Regions from separate parts of the Homo sapiens genome. Here all the other regions are linked to region 3. Evidence: promoter capture Hi-C in 16 types of primary human blood cells and fetal thymus (Javierre and others, 2016). All regions are on one chromosome and are shown on one strand. The core of a region is centred on a gene start or on the middle of the fragment in contact, and the rest is flanking DNA. Distances in the headings are between cores, read along the strand shown.

Evidence for each region. The method cuts DNA at HindIII sites, captures the fragments that hold promoters and counts their contacts. A CHiCAGO score of 5 or more calls a contact.
Region 1: a contact is called between a fragment that was not itself captured here and the fragment with the promoter of CMIP in region 3, in 3 of 17 cell types (naive B cells, total B cells and neutrophils). The highest score is 9.2, in naive B cells.
Region 2: a contact is called between the fragment with the promoter of PLCG2 here and the fragment with the promoter of CMIP in region 3, in 3 of 17 cell types (neutrophils, naive B cells and total B cells). The highest score is 12.3, in neutrophils.

The regions. Positions count from the first base shown.
Region 1 is chr16:81,796,026-81,800,335 of GRCh38, reverse strand. All of the region lies in intron 2 of PLCG2 (phospholipase C gamma 2), which reads right to left. Among named protein-coding and RNA genes, the nearest start is that of PLCG2, 19 kb to the right of the region's middle. RefSeq lists enhancers at 1,292-1,901, 2,172-2,591, 2,642-2,691. The HindIII fragment of the contact is 5,626 bases long and covers 1-4,310 here.
Region 2 is chr16:81,777,323-81,781,590 of GRCh38, reverse strand. It overlaps PLCG2 (phospholipase C gamma 2), which reads right to left and starts at 2,300. Exons shown (of 33, transcript NM_002661.5): 1 at 2,167-2,300. LOC105369213 (a long non-coding RNA gene) reads right to left here. Exons shown (of 4, transcript NR_189584.1): 4 at 4,238-4,268. RefSeq lists silencers at 1,995-2,074, 2,085-2,184, 2,215-2,484, 2,513-2,807. The HindIII fragment of the contact is 8,410 bases long and covers 1-4,268 here.
Region 3 is chr16:81,443,487-81,447,892 of GRCh38, reverse strand. CMIP (c-Maf inducing protein) reads right to left here and starts at 3,085. Exons shown (of 21, transcript NM_198390.3): 1 at 2,352-3,085. The coding sequence starts at 2,651. RefSeq lists enhancers at 18-781, 782-1,547, 3,712-4,244 and silencers at 2,093-2,392, 2,823-2,872, 2,943-3,292, 3,403-3,502. The HindIII fragment of the contact is 9,361 bases long and covers 1-4,406 here.

The sequences.
Region 1 (4,310 bases), core at 860-3,359, 350 kb before region 3:
AATACATGCAGGGCTTAATATCTAGGTGATGAGCTGATAGGTGCAGCAAGCCACGATGGCAAACGCTTACCTATGTATCCCACACATTCTGCACATGTATCCCAGAACTTACAATAAAAGTAAATTTAAACAATAATAATAGCAATAGTAGCTCTTATAGAGTGCTTGGGATATTTGCCAGGTACTATGATACCCAAAGTATGATACATAATTAACTCCCCTAATCCTCATGAGAGTCCAGTGTAATAGGTACCATTATTATCCTATTTTACAGATGAGTGCAATGAAAAGTTAAGTAACTTGTCCATGGCCACAAATGGGATAAGTGGCATAGCCAAGATCTGAACCCAGGCAGTCAGACCCTGGATCCCTTGCTCTTGAGTATGTGGGGTCTGTCATATTATTTTTTAAACCAACATCGACATTTAAAATAGTTAATAACAGGCTGGGCTCAGTGGTTCACACCTGTAATCCCAGCACTTTAGGAGGCCAAGGTGGGAGGATCACGAGGTCAGGAGATCGAGACCATCCTGGCTAACACGGTGAAACCCCATCTCCACTAAAAATACAAAAAAATTAGCCAAGTGTGGTGGCGGGCGCCTGTAGTCCCAGCTACTCGGGAGGTTGAGGCAGGAGAATGGTGTGAACCTGGGAGGCGGAGCTTGCAGTGAGCCAAGATGGTGCCATTGCACCTGGGCAATAGAGCGAGACTCTGTCTCAAAAAAAAAAAAAAAAAATTAATAACAGGCCAGGCTCAGTGGCTTGCACCTGTAATCCCAGCACTTTGGGAGGCCAAGATGGGAGGATCTCTTGAGGCCAGGAGTTCAAGGCTACAGTGACCTATGGTCACACCACTGCACACCAACCTGGGTGACAGAGCAAGACCCTGCCTCAAAAAATTAATTAATTCATTAACTAAAATAAATTAGTTAATAATACTAACATGGTCACAAAGTAGTACAAAATGAAAAAGGCAGATTACTAAAGTACATTACAAAAGGGTCGCATGTTGTGAAAATGTCTTGTGAATAAAGTTTTGTTGGACAAAAAGATTTGGAAGGTGGTACACCAGGTGTTAACACCATCTCTCTGGGTAGGGGGGTGGCGGGGGCTAAGGGGTTGTTTTTCTCACCCAGAAGTAGGTTAAAATGTGTCTACCAATGAACACATAGTACTTCTATAATGAGGGGGAAAAAGCAGTTGTTTTAATTAGGAGAAATATGCAAGGCCAGAGGGAAGCAGCTCAGAGCTGTCTAAACAGGAAACTGGCGTAACGTTCACTCTGCGCCACGCTGGGCTTGGGCCCTTCTTGCCTCCCCAGGGACACGGGCCCTCCTTCAGTCATGCTACTACCTGGTGTAGGGGCTTTTCCCACTGGTGGAGGCTGGTGGCAGGCCAGGGACATCCTGGAGTGGCTGGTAGTGCTGGGGAGAGAGACACCTGGCCGGTGAAATCCAGCCGAAGCAGGAGCAGAGAAGACGCAGTGGGATCCCTGAAGTCCTGAGGCCGGGGAGGCCAGCCCCTCCTCCACCTCTTCTGAGCTCTGCGGGGTCTCCTCTTCCTGCTGCACATGCTCTCACCATGCCTTGCCTAATTTTGCTAGTTTCCATTCTACAAATTAGTAAGTTCCCATTTCCTTCTTTCTCAAAACAGAATCCTTCACACACACAGATACTTCACCTCCCAAAACTCACGCCTACCCCTGGCCTCCAGCACAACTTGTATAGATGAAAGCAGCACCTTACAGCTTCTTCCCAACAGCCCTGTGACAGTGGAGTGGCCCCCAGGCTGTGATGTGGTATCATCACTGTTTCTATTTCCAGAACTTCACCTTCACCCTGTCGACGCTCCTTCTCCAAGCCCAGGCCTCCCCAGCCTCCCAGAAGCACTGGGCTGCTTTTATATCCAGGCTCAGGTCCAAGAGCACTTAACCCCAGAGGACCCCTAGCTGTGTGCTACAGAAGAGCAGGAGGAGGACACCCCCTACACATGCGAGCTATGTCTCAGCCTGTCCCATGTCCCCCACGCAAACACAAATGCAGGCACCTGCTGCCTGAGGAGACATATGGCAGCATGGCTGGGAGGCACCCTGTGTTAAGTACATACTGGACTTGTGACAATCACTTACAAACTGAATCCTCCCAGTGATCTGATGGGGTAAGCTCCACTATTACCCCATCTTATAGATAAGAAAACTGAGACTCAGGCCAGGCGCGGTGACTCACACCTGTAATCCCAACACTTTGGGAGGCCAATGCAGGCAGATCACTTGAGGTCAGAAGTTCAAGGCCAGCCTGGTCAACATGGTGGAACCCCATCTCTACTAAAAATACAAAAATTAGCCAGGTGAGGTGGAGGGTACCTGTAATCCCAGCTACTCAGGAGGCTGAGGCAGAATAATTGCTTGAACCCGGGAGGCAGAGGTTGCAGTGAACTGAAATTGTGCCGCTGCACTTCAGCCTGGGGACAGAGTGAGACTCCATCTCAAAAAAAAAAAAGACAAGAAAAAAGAAAACTGAGACTCAAAGAGGCCAAGTAGATTGCCTAAGGTCACACAGTCACTAAGTGCCAGGACCACGAGTGGAACCACGGTGTATGGTTAAAGAGGAAGTTGTCACAGAGGTGCCCTATCTCAACCCCAGATACTGCTGCCATGGTTAGGAAGAAACCGGAAGTCCGAGGCTGAAAGGGGCAGCCAGGGCCTTTTCCTGATTCATCTGTTAACCAGGTATCTGAGGAGCACCAGCCACAGGCCAGATATGGGCCAGGTGCTGGGAAGTCCCCCTTATGAACAGAACAGACAGGGTCCCTGGCCTCCCAGCACTCTTAGTCTGTGGGTCAGGACTACCGAAGGCCTGGCCCCAAGATCGGGCCTTGCATGAAAGCAGGAAAAGTCAACCCCAGGATTTCTGATTTCAACCCCAAACTGCACAGCACCTAAATCTCTCCCAAGACAAATCAAGACACATAATTTTGCGAGCCTGATATACAAAAACCCGCATTTATATCTAAGACAGACTAGGGGACAGGTAGTGGAGATAATTTTTTTTTTTTCAAAAATGATTCACCAAGGGACATCTTTAACTAGATCCCTCCCCCAACTCAGCACAATCCCTAAGACGTTGGACCTGCACTGACTTGTCAGGAACTCCAAATATACCTGCATTCCCAGAACTTGGTGCTATTTTGAGGGACAAATGCTGCCTCCCTCGTTTACCCACTACACTGTATTCCCTCTTACACCCTCAGGGCCCAGGCCAGAACCAACGCAGCTAGAAAATAACATGACACGTGGAAGAAAGCAACGCCTCTTAAATTCCGTTATGACAAACCACAACCCATCCATAGTATCAGTGGCTGAATGGGTAGGTCAATCCCTGTACTCACCCCGTTGCCCTCAGGCCCCTGTTACATGAGAGTGTATTTGTGTGTTAGGCCTGCCACTCATGAAATACCAAAAATTGGATGGCCGAAACAACAGAAGTTTGTCTCACAGTTCTGGAGACCAGAAGTCCAAAATCAAAGTGTTGGCGAGGCTGGTTCCTCCTGAGGGAGCACCCCTGGTGTTCCTTAGCTTGCAGATGCATGACTCAGATTTCTGTATCTGTCTTCACATGGCCTTCTCTCCCTGTGTCTCTCTCTCCTCTTCTCATAAGGAAACCAGTCATATTGGATTAGGGCCCACTCTATTCCATTATGATTTCATCTCAACTAATTACATCTGCAAAGACCCTCTTTCCAAATAAGATCACATTCTGAGTATGGGGATTAGGACCTTGACATATGAAATTGGTAAGGACAATTCAATCCGTAACAGGCACCCACCACTGCCCACAGCCCGGGAGCCAGACGATGTCCTCTTACAGGAGACCACCTCCAATCCACCCCTATGCCCAGGAAAGGCTGGCCGTGCCAAAGGATACTGATCTCCAAAGCAGCCTGCTCATGTGTGCTGGCTTTAAAAGGCATGGCCCATAGGAGGCCTCTCTCTCAGGGGTCCATCCTTGGGAGGTTGCAAAACCAAAGCTGTCACTGATGTGGCAGCAACAGAAAAAGCCAAGGTTTGGAGACAGTCTGTGCTGGGGAGGGGAGGGCCACATCTGTGAGAGAAACCCAAGAGGGCAGATGAGGCTGTCTAAGAGACATCACCATCAGCAGCTCTAGTTACAGACAGGAAAGTCCTCAGTGCCAGTGGCTCACCACTTCCCTTTCCATGCAGCCCAGCGATGAGACTGTTCATTCTCCTGGATTCCTACAAGACTCCCAAACCCTTACCATCAACCTGCTTATCAGCCTTCACTGGGGCACCT
Region 2 (4,268 bases), core at 1,051-3,550, 330 kb before region 3:
AATTCCACCCCTGCTCCTTTAGGGCAACCTGTGAGCAGCTACTAAAAAGCAAAACACGCATATGCTTCGATCCTGCAATTGTACATGTAAAGAAAGACATGCACAAAGATGCAATATGTACGACAGAAAATCACGGAAGCAATAGTTGCAATAGAAATACAAAAAAAGAAAAAAAAACAGAAAACAACTGCTCATCAATGTGGGGGGCCTCCTGGATAAATAATGGTGCACATGCACTGAAGAACGCTCAGTAGCCATCAGAAAGAATGAGGATGATAGATAAGCAATTTGATCTGGAAAGATTTGTGAGGTCAATAAAAAAATAGCTTCAGACAATAGTTGCAACTGTATGAGTATAATACAATTCCCTTTTTATAAAGGTGATCTTCTGGTAAATCCAGGAGAGTGGTTACTATTTATCGGAGGCTGGGAGAGGGTAGAGGATACAACTTGACTTTATTTATATTAACTGATGATGTAACGGGCAAATTTTTCTCTTTGTGTTCTTGCTGTTTTCTAAATTAAGAAGTGTTTGTGTGTGTTTGTTTGTTTGTTTGTTTGTCTTGAGATGGAGTCTCTCTTGTCACCCAGGCTGGAGTGCAGTGGCATGATCTGGGTTCACTGCAACCTCCACCTCCTGGGTTCAAGTGATTCTCCTGCCTCAGCCTCCTGGGTAGCTGGGATTACAGGCGGCCACCACCACGCCCAGGTAATTTTTGTAGTTTTAGTAGAGATGGGGTTTCACCATGTTGGTGAGGCTGGTCTGGAACGCTTGACCTCAAGTGATCAGCCCAGCTCGGCCTCCCAAAGTGCTGGGATTACAGGTGTGAGCCACCGTGCCTGACCAAGAAATGTTTTCAAAAGTTTTCTCACCAGCAGCTTTTCATTGACTCTACCCAATGAGTGCAAAAGGGCTATTCATGGGGTCTGTGCTTTTCCACTTCCAGAGGAACTGCCCATACTCCAGTCGCTGGTGGGGGAAGGCAGCTGCATCATTAGGTGACTTAAACATCAGTGAGGCTCACAATGACGATTGTCCCTGAGCTGGTATACACGTGACTGCACACACACCTTTGCAAGAGAAACTGCTTGAGGCTGGCATAGACTTCAAAATTCTGTAAAACTTCCCCGCAGAACTGTAGTCAAGGACGAGGGCCCATGCCCCAGAGAATGCCCTTGAACCAGAGAGTCAGGAACTGCCCAAGGACTCTCCATGGATGCGCCCCGATTCTCAGCGAACCTCGTGGAACAGCAATAAGCCCCAATTCTCGACACAGCCCTGGAAAATTGGGTGGCTCCAGTATCCAGAGGGGGAAACAGACTCAAAAAGGTTCTTCAACTTGCCCAGGGTCCCACTGATGGAACTGAAATTCAAATTAAGTTCCGACGGGCAAGGCCACCTGTTTCCCTCGCGCCATGTCACCCCTTTACCACCCCGCCCCCCATAGTTTCTCACCCTAGTTCAAGATTAGGGTACCAAGAGAGCCCCGCCCCACCGTCCTGCTGGAATCCAGGAGCTCCCCGTCCAAACGGGGCACGTCTTTAACCTGAACTCTTGCGCTGTGCGGGTAATGCCCTCTTTGGGATTCCAAAACACAACAAAACACAACACGCACAGACACACGCATAATTACGCAGACAGCTGCGGAGCGGGCATCGCGAGTGTCCTGCAAGCTCTCCAAAAGTCTCCGGGAAGGACTGCGCCTCCCGCGGTATCGCTCCCACCCGCCACCCGCAACCACCGAAGTGAGACAGGGAAGTGTGGCTCCGAGCGTCCGCGAGCTCTGGGCACAAGGGCCGTCAAGAGAGACGGCGCCACCCCACGCAGAGCCGCTCGAAAAGAGGAGTTTTGAACGCCAGCCCCCACACGACCCCTGACCTTCCTCCCGGTCCCCATTCAAAGCTGGGGCCGCCCCACCGCACGGACCGGAGAGGTGGCGCCGGCCCGGGGTGAGGAAGTGGCCAGCGGCTGGGCCAGGATCCCTGCCGTCACCAAACGGACCCCGGGCACGGCGGGCCGGGGTCCCCGAGGGTGCGCCCCGTCCCTGCCCGCTCCGGCTGAGCCAGGACGCAGACCCCCTCGGACGCAGCGCCCTGGGAGCCGGTCCCCGCGGGGCGCAGGTCCCTGGGCGCCCTGCCTGCCTCGCTCCCGGCCGGGCAGCTCACCTGGCCGTGCCGCCCGGGCACAGCTGCCCGCCTGCCCCGGGTTTGGGCTCCGGGGTCCCGCGCGCGCAGCCCGCGTCCCGACTCGGGTCACTCAGCGCCGCTCACGCCCTCCGCCGCCGGCGCTCGCTACTTCTGCTTCGGCCGCGGCGCCGCGCCACGTGATCCTCGGGGGCCGCCCCCCGCACCGCCCAGCCTCGCCCCGCCTCGCCCCGCCCCAGGCGCGCCCAGCCGGGTCCGCCTCTCGGAGCGCACCCCGAGTGCAGCGTCCCCGCGCCCTCCCCGCCATGGAGCGGCCCAGGCCTGGAGCCCCGCCTCTGCGTGCCAAAGAAGAAACTGAGGCAACCCGAGGGGAGGCTACCTGCCCGAGGCCACTTGGCCAGGTGCAAAGGGAATTCCCCAATATCATGGCATTCCTGGAGAGCCGGCCGCAGTCCAGGTGTTTGCCGTATACTTAACACACTCCCGGCCGGGCGCCCGGGCTCACGCCTGTCATCCCAGCTCTTTGGGAAGCCTAGACGGGAGGATCGTCTGAGCTCGAGAGTTCGAGACAGCAATGAGCTAGGATGGGTGTGGCCGAGAGACACTCCGTCTCAAAAATAAATAAATAAAAATTAAAAATAAATATACTCTTCACAATTACCCGCCAGGAATTGCCAATTCATGGCCCTAATTTGAAGCCCTCGTTGAGGCTGCGCTGGAGTCAGACCAACCCTTACTGCTACCTTAGGCAGACCACTTAAAAACCGACAGCCTCAGTTTCCCCATCTGTAAAACGTGATCAACATAGTGCCAGCCCCAAAGGGAGTCAGGAGCAAAGAACCCCAGACAATTGATGTCCCGTTTTCCTGATCTCATGGGAAGAAGCTAATATGTTCTTTAAGAAATTTATTTTTCCGTTCGTGTGTTGCATGAAGCTATCTGATTCAAACCCTTCCTATGCTCTTTGATGGAGGTATCTTTGTTGTGACTAGAGGCAGTTTCAGGGGCACCTAGACAGCTGTCAGGCACTTGAATTTCACTTCCAAGTTGCTTGAGTTATAGCTTCTGTTTTCTAAGAGGCAGGGTCTCACTCTGTCACCCAGGCTGGAGTGCAGTGGTGCCATCATAGCTCACCACATCCTCGAACTCCGGGACTCAAGCGATCCTCCTGCTTCTGCCTCCTGAAGAGCTGGGACTATAGAGGCACACCACACTTGGCTAATTTTCTCTTTTTTCGACATGAGGTCTCACTATGTGTCCCAGGCTGTTCTTGAACTCCTGACCTCAAGCAATCCTCCTGCCTCTACCTCCCAAAGCACTGGGATCACAGGCATGTGCCACTGGTCTGTTATAGCGTTTTTTTTGTGTGTGTGTGTTTTTGGTTTTTTTTGTTTTTTTTTTTGTTTTTTTTTTGTTTTTTTTTTTTTTTGAGACAAAGTCTTGCTCTCTTGCCCAGGCTGGAGTGCAGTGGCACGATCTCGGCTCACTGCAACCTCCACCTCCCAGGTTTAAGCGATTCTCCTGCCTCAGCCTCCTGAGTAGCTGGGATTATAGGTGTATGCCATCATGCTTGGCTAATTTTTTGTATTTTTACTAGAGACGCGGTTTCACTATGTTGGCCAGATTGGTCTCAAACTCCTGACCTCAAGTGATCCACCCACCTTGGCCTCCCAAAGTGCTGGGATTACAGGCATGAGCCACTGCACCCGGCCTGTTATAGCGTTTTTTAATTGAGGAATATCACTCTCACTGTCAATGTTGTATCCCAAGCCATAGGACTCGTTTGTGACTTCACAAGATCTGTGGATTCATTTCTTTCAGCACTCCCAACTGGCGTGTATAGCTGTGCTCATCACCACAGATCACTTAACACATCAATTTTTTAAAGAGATCTTGGAAGGACTCATTATGACATCAACCACTTGAAGTCATTGGGCCAATTCCCCAGGAAAAATGACTACATCTAGGGGCAATTCCTTTGCCTCACTTTTTTTTTTTTTTTTTTTTTAGAACTTCAGCTTGTATTTATTTCAACCAATCTTTTTCACACTTTTGTTTTAGTATGTGTTATATAAAGTACATAATATATTAGTTCAGTCATATATATGTATAATTTATTATTA
Region 3 (4,406 bases), core at 1,836-4,335:
CGAGAGCCCTGGTGGCAGTCCCAACCTCACCTCTACCCGGGAGGCCAGCGCTCCAGCCAGGCCAGCCCTCACAGCCCCACCTCCAGGCTCACAGGCCCTGAGGCAAGGCCCCCTGGAGCCCACCAGAGGGCAAGGGTAAGACTTAAGGACACCCCCTGCCTGTAGTGCTTGGTGACGAAAGGCAGCGGAAAGGGGATTATGCCAGTCCATCAAACACTTCCTTATAGTTCCTCTTGCCACATTTCCTAACACCAGAGCATGGCTCTGCCAAGAGAATCTTGCTCCATGGATAAGCCTCAGTCCCCAGTACTAGACAGGTGCTTTCCGGAAAGGCCCACACTACCGATGGTGCCACCTACCTGGGCTGGCCAAGGTGAGCGAGGGGCCTCTGGCTATTCAGGTCTTTCTTCCTTCCCTCTTTCTCTCAGATATACCTCCTGAGCAATCGGAGGTAAGTGGGGAGGCATTAGCCTCGAGAGCTGGCTTTCCGGAAACAGGACGGTAGCAGCGGGACACTCACTCCTGGCTTCTCCCAGAGGGAGAAGGGGCTCCTCCTGGCCTTCCCATGGCAGGTCACTGTTCCTTCTAACCATTTTCCTACCCCACCACCAACAACCCTTCATTTTGTGGAGTGTAAGAGGAAAAAAAAAAAAAAAGCCCAATAAAGTCCCCCTGAGCCAGGTGAAAATTCTGAAGCCAGATCTGGGGTCTCCAGAATCCAGGCAGGGGGCACCGCGGTCACCAGTTCCTCCCCACATCAGAAACACTCCGTACTGGCAAATTTTCGGAGGCTCTCTCCCGCCTCCATCCATTGGAAAGCCAAATGCTGCGGCCTGTGGCGCGGGACGGGCTTGAGAACATGCACCAGCCTGACCGGGGACTGGGCCGCCTCCCCGCGACCAGCAATCCTCCCTGAAAAAGGAGTCTTTGCAGATATTGCACCAACGTGCCCACAGGAAAGAGAAAATAGGTGCTCTAAGCATGTCGGACCCCAAATTAAGAATAAAAGTCCTCGAGGGCTGCAACGCTCTGGGGTGGGGGGTGGGGGACTGGTTCAAAGAGTAGGATTCTTCAGCTAACTTTTCCCCCCTCCCCATTCCTTGGGGCATGTGTCATGGCCTGTGACACACCGCCAAGGGAACATGGATGCCAGGGAAATGTCTACACACGCTACACGTTTGTGACATGCCATGTAAGCGACACCCTATTTCCTGGCTGGGTTTTCTTGGCACAGGTGTGGGCAGGCAGTGGATTCGGCCCCCTCCCACTGCGCTTAGTAAACAGGATCACGGTGGCCCCAGGGAGGAGTGTGCATTCTGGGGAAGACAAGCTACACCCCCAATGAGGATGGGACCCCCACGGCAAGCCTCAGGCCCAAGCCACAGCCGGTATTTGAAACTGTCCTTGTTTCAAAACACAAAGCATCCTGTTCAGGCTCCTACCCGCCACCCCCACTCTCCCCTCGACCCCACCACAGCTGTCTTTCTCCACGTACGAAGAAGGCCACCATTTGCAGATCTGATTTCAGAAACAGATCAATGGTTTTTCCTCTCCGACTCATCCAGCTGACCCAGTCCTACCCATGTATTTAAAAACAATAACAAAATTAAACCTCCAGCAACAAAACACACACGTATACACACACTCTACAGACAATGCCGGACCAGGGCTCCACCAAGCAGCTTCTAGGCTAGAACTCGACCACCGCTGGGTCCTGAGATATTCCAGGACCACTGCCCCCTCCCCCTCCACTTCCAACCTCTCAATGTGCGAATGAGATTTTCAGAAAGGGAAGCACCCCGTTCTGCCTGCCAGCCCTGGCAGGAAAGAGAATAAAGGACGGGTAAACCAAACAGAGAAACTGGCTTCTGGAAATTCTTTGGGTTTGGGGGTTTGGAGGTTTTGTTGTGTTGTTTGTTTTTTTTTTTAAATCTGAGGGGTGGTATTTTGTTTTCCCCTCCCCCACCCCTCAGATCCAGATGGGCCAGGGGCTTCCAGAGAGAACCCCCACCACCATCAGGGCCCAGCGTCGGGTCCATCCTCGAGTCCCAGCCACCAGAAACACAAGAGCTGGGGGCAGAAGGTCCCCAGGCACCCAGCCTGGCGGTGGGCCGAGTCTCCAGCATTTTAAGGGTCTCTCCTGAGCCCGGTCGGCTGGTTTGGGCTTCAGACTCCAAAATCGAGCCCCGCGAGCAGGCCAGGAGCGAGGCGCCCTGGTTCTCCCCGTTCCCCCGGCACCCCCCACCGCCCCCCAGGCCCTGGGCTCCAGGTGCAGCGCCAGGGGGCAGCCAGGGAGGGCGCATCTCGGGCCCCGAGGAGAGGCGGGGGTGCAGCCGCGCAGAGCCACTCACCGTGGCGGACGCCAGGCTGTTGTCGGCCAGCGTTAGGTGGTGCGGCTCCCAGCGCCTCAGGAATTTCGAGGTGAGGATCTTGCTGAGAAAGGTCCGCGGGTGCCGGATGACACAGACCTGAATGTCGCCCTCCTGCAGCAGTTTGTACCTCATCCCGTTGCAAAGCAGAAGAGCCCGGCGGCAGGGCACGGCGCCCATCTTCGTGCCTTCGGGGGCCGACACGTCGCCCCCCAGCAGCGGCTTGGTCTCCTCGATCTGCCGGGGGTCGCCGCCGCCGCCCGAGCTGCTGGTCACATCCATGGCCGCGCCGGGGGAGGGGGCTGGGGGCGGGGAGAGGGGGCTGTCCTGGGCTGCTGGGGCGGCGGGGCCCCCGGATCCGGCGGCCCGCACCCCCCCACCCCCCGGGAAGGTGGGGGGGTGTGGGGCTGGGGGCGCCCGCAGGGGAGGGGGCGCTGCCCGCGGGGGGCGGCGCGTGCGGCGGGCTGGGCCGGCCTCGGCGCTTCCTGCGGGGCTCCGGGCTTCCTCCTAGCTCGTCGGGTGCATGCTCGCGGCGGCTGACCGGGCTCGGCGGGCGACGGGGAGGGGCGGGGGAGGCCGAGGGCGGGCCGGGGCCAGGCGCGGAGGGCGGGCGCCGGGGTGGGGGCGGCGGGGTGGGGGCGGGCGTGTCTCGGGGCCCCGCGCCGCCGCGCGCGTGTGTACAGAGCGTGTGTCCGCGCGGCCGTCCGGGCGAGAGTGGCCGCGGGCGGGGCGGGCCGCGCGCCGGGCTCCCGGAGCCCGGGGCGCCCGCGCGATTGGTCCCCGCAGGGTCATGTGCCCGCCCCTCTGACGTCAATGGCGGCAACGGCGGCGGCCGCGGCGGCTTCGGCCTCTCGCGGGCGGAGTCCGCGGTCCGGGCGGGGTCGCGGCCCACGACGGGGAGGCGCGGCCCGACGGGAGGGGCAGCCCCTGGGGAGGGGGCTGGGGCGGGCGAGCCCCGCGGGGTCCCGGCCCGCCCCGCCTGGAATGTGGGGAGGGGGCGGGGCGCGGGGGCGGGGCGCGTGACGTCACGCCAGCCGCGCCCCCGCGGGTGCCCGGGCGGGAGCCCAGCCAGGCTGCCGGAGCCTGGGGGCCCGCGCCTCACCCACCCCCGCCGCCCCCGGGCCGGACTCGGACGGGTAAAGAAGGATACCCGAGGGCCGGGGGCTGGGTGGAAGGACGGGGACTGGAACCCTCGACCCCTGACGCCCCCTCCGCTGTCCAGGCTGTCCAGCGGGCTGGCCAGATGGGGCCGTGGGACGGGGACGCCTTCCCGACTGAAAGTGTCCCCGCGGTGATCCGGAGGATGAGCCCACCCTGCCCTGTCTCCCACTGCGGGACCCAGCCGGCCTCGAACTCCTGGCCTTTGACGTCTGCTGGCTTTGGCCTTGGGGGTCCTCAAACCTTCTGGAGAGAGGGGACGGTCCGCCCATCCCCCTTCTTTCTTCTGCCCAGGGAGACAGAGCCTCTTCTAGGAACCCACTTAAAGCACCCCCCAACCTACACAGCCACCCCTCTTGTGCGCACCCCAGCAGCTCCCCCTACTTCACCTTCCCTGGGACCCCACCTGGTCATTTTATCTGAGTTCACAGGCCCAGCACCAGCCCACGAGAGAACCATATTCGATTCTCTTGTGACCCAGGGTATCAGGAACTGCAGCCTGGATGCAAAAAGCTCCCTTTCTGCCATCACAAGCAGCCGGCACCTAAGGCCACCTAGCAAATGCTCAGCTCCTCAGCCAGGTTTTCTTATCTCCACGTGCTCCTGCAGCTAATAACGTTAAAACCCTAGATTTTTGCCTTTTTAAGTGAAGGCGCCTCTGTAGTGAACACATGAATGTGTGCAGCGTGTGTTGAACTGCGTCGTGAACACTGCGGAATATCCACAGCATCTGTGCCGTTGGTGGAAATTATTCACCCCCCCTCTCCCAAGAACAGGCAGCATGAAGGTGCTCCCCAGAGGACCCTCTCCCCGAGCCTGGCCAGGGTTTCAGGCAGGGGATGAAAGGCAGGTCCCAGGCTGCATCCCTCACCAAGGAAA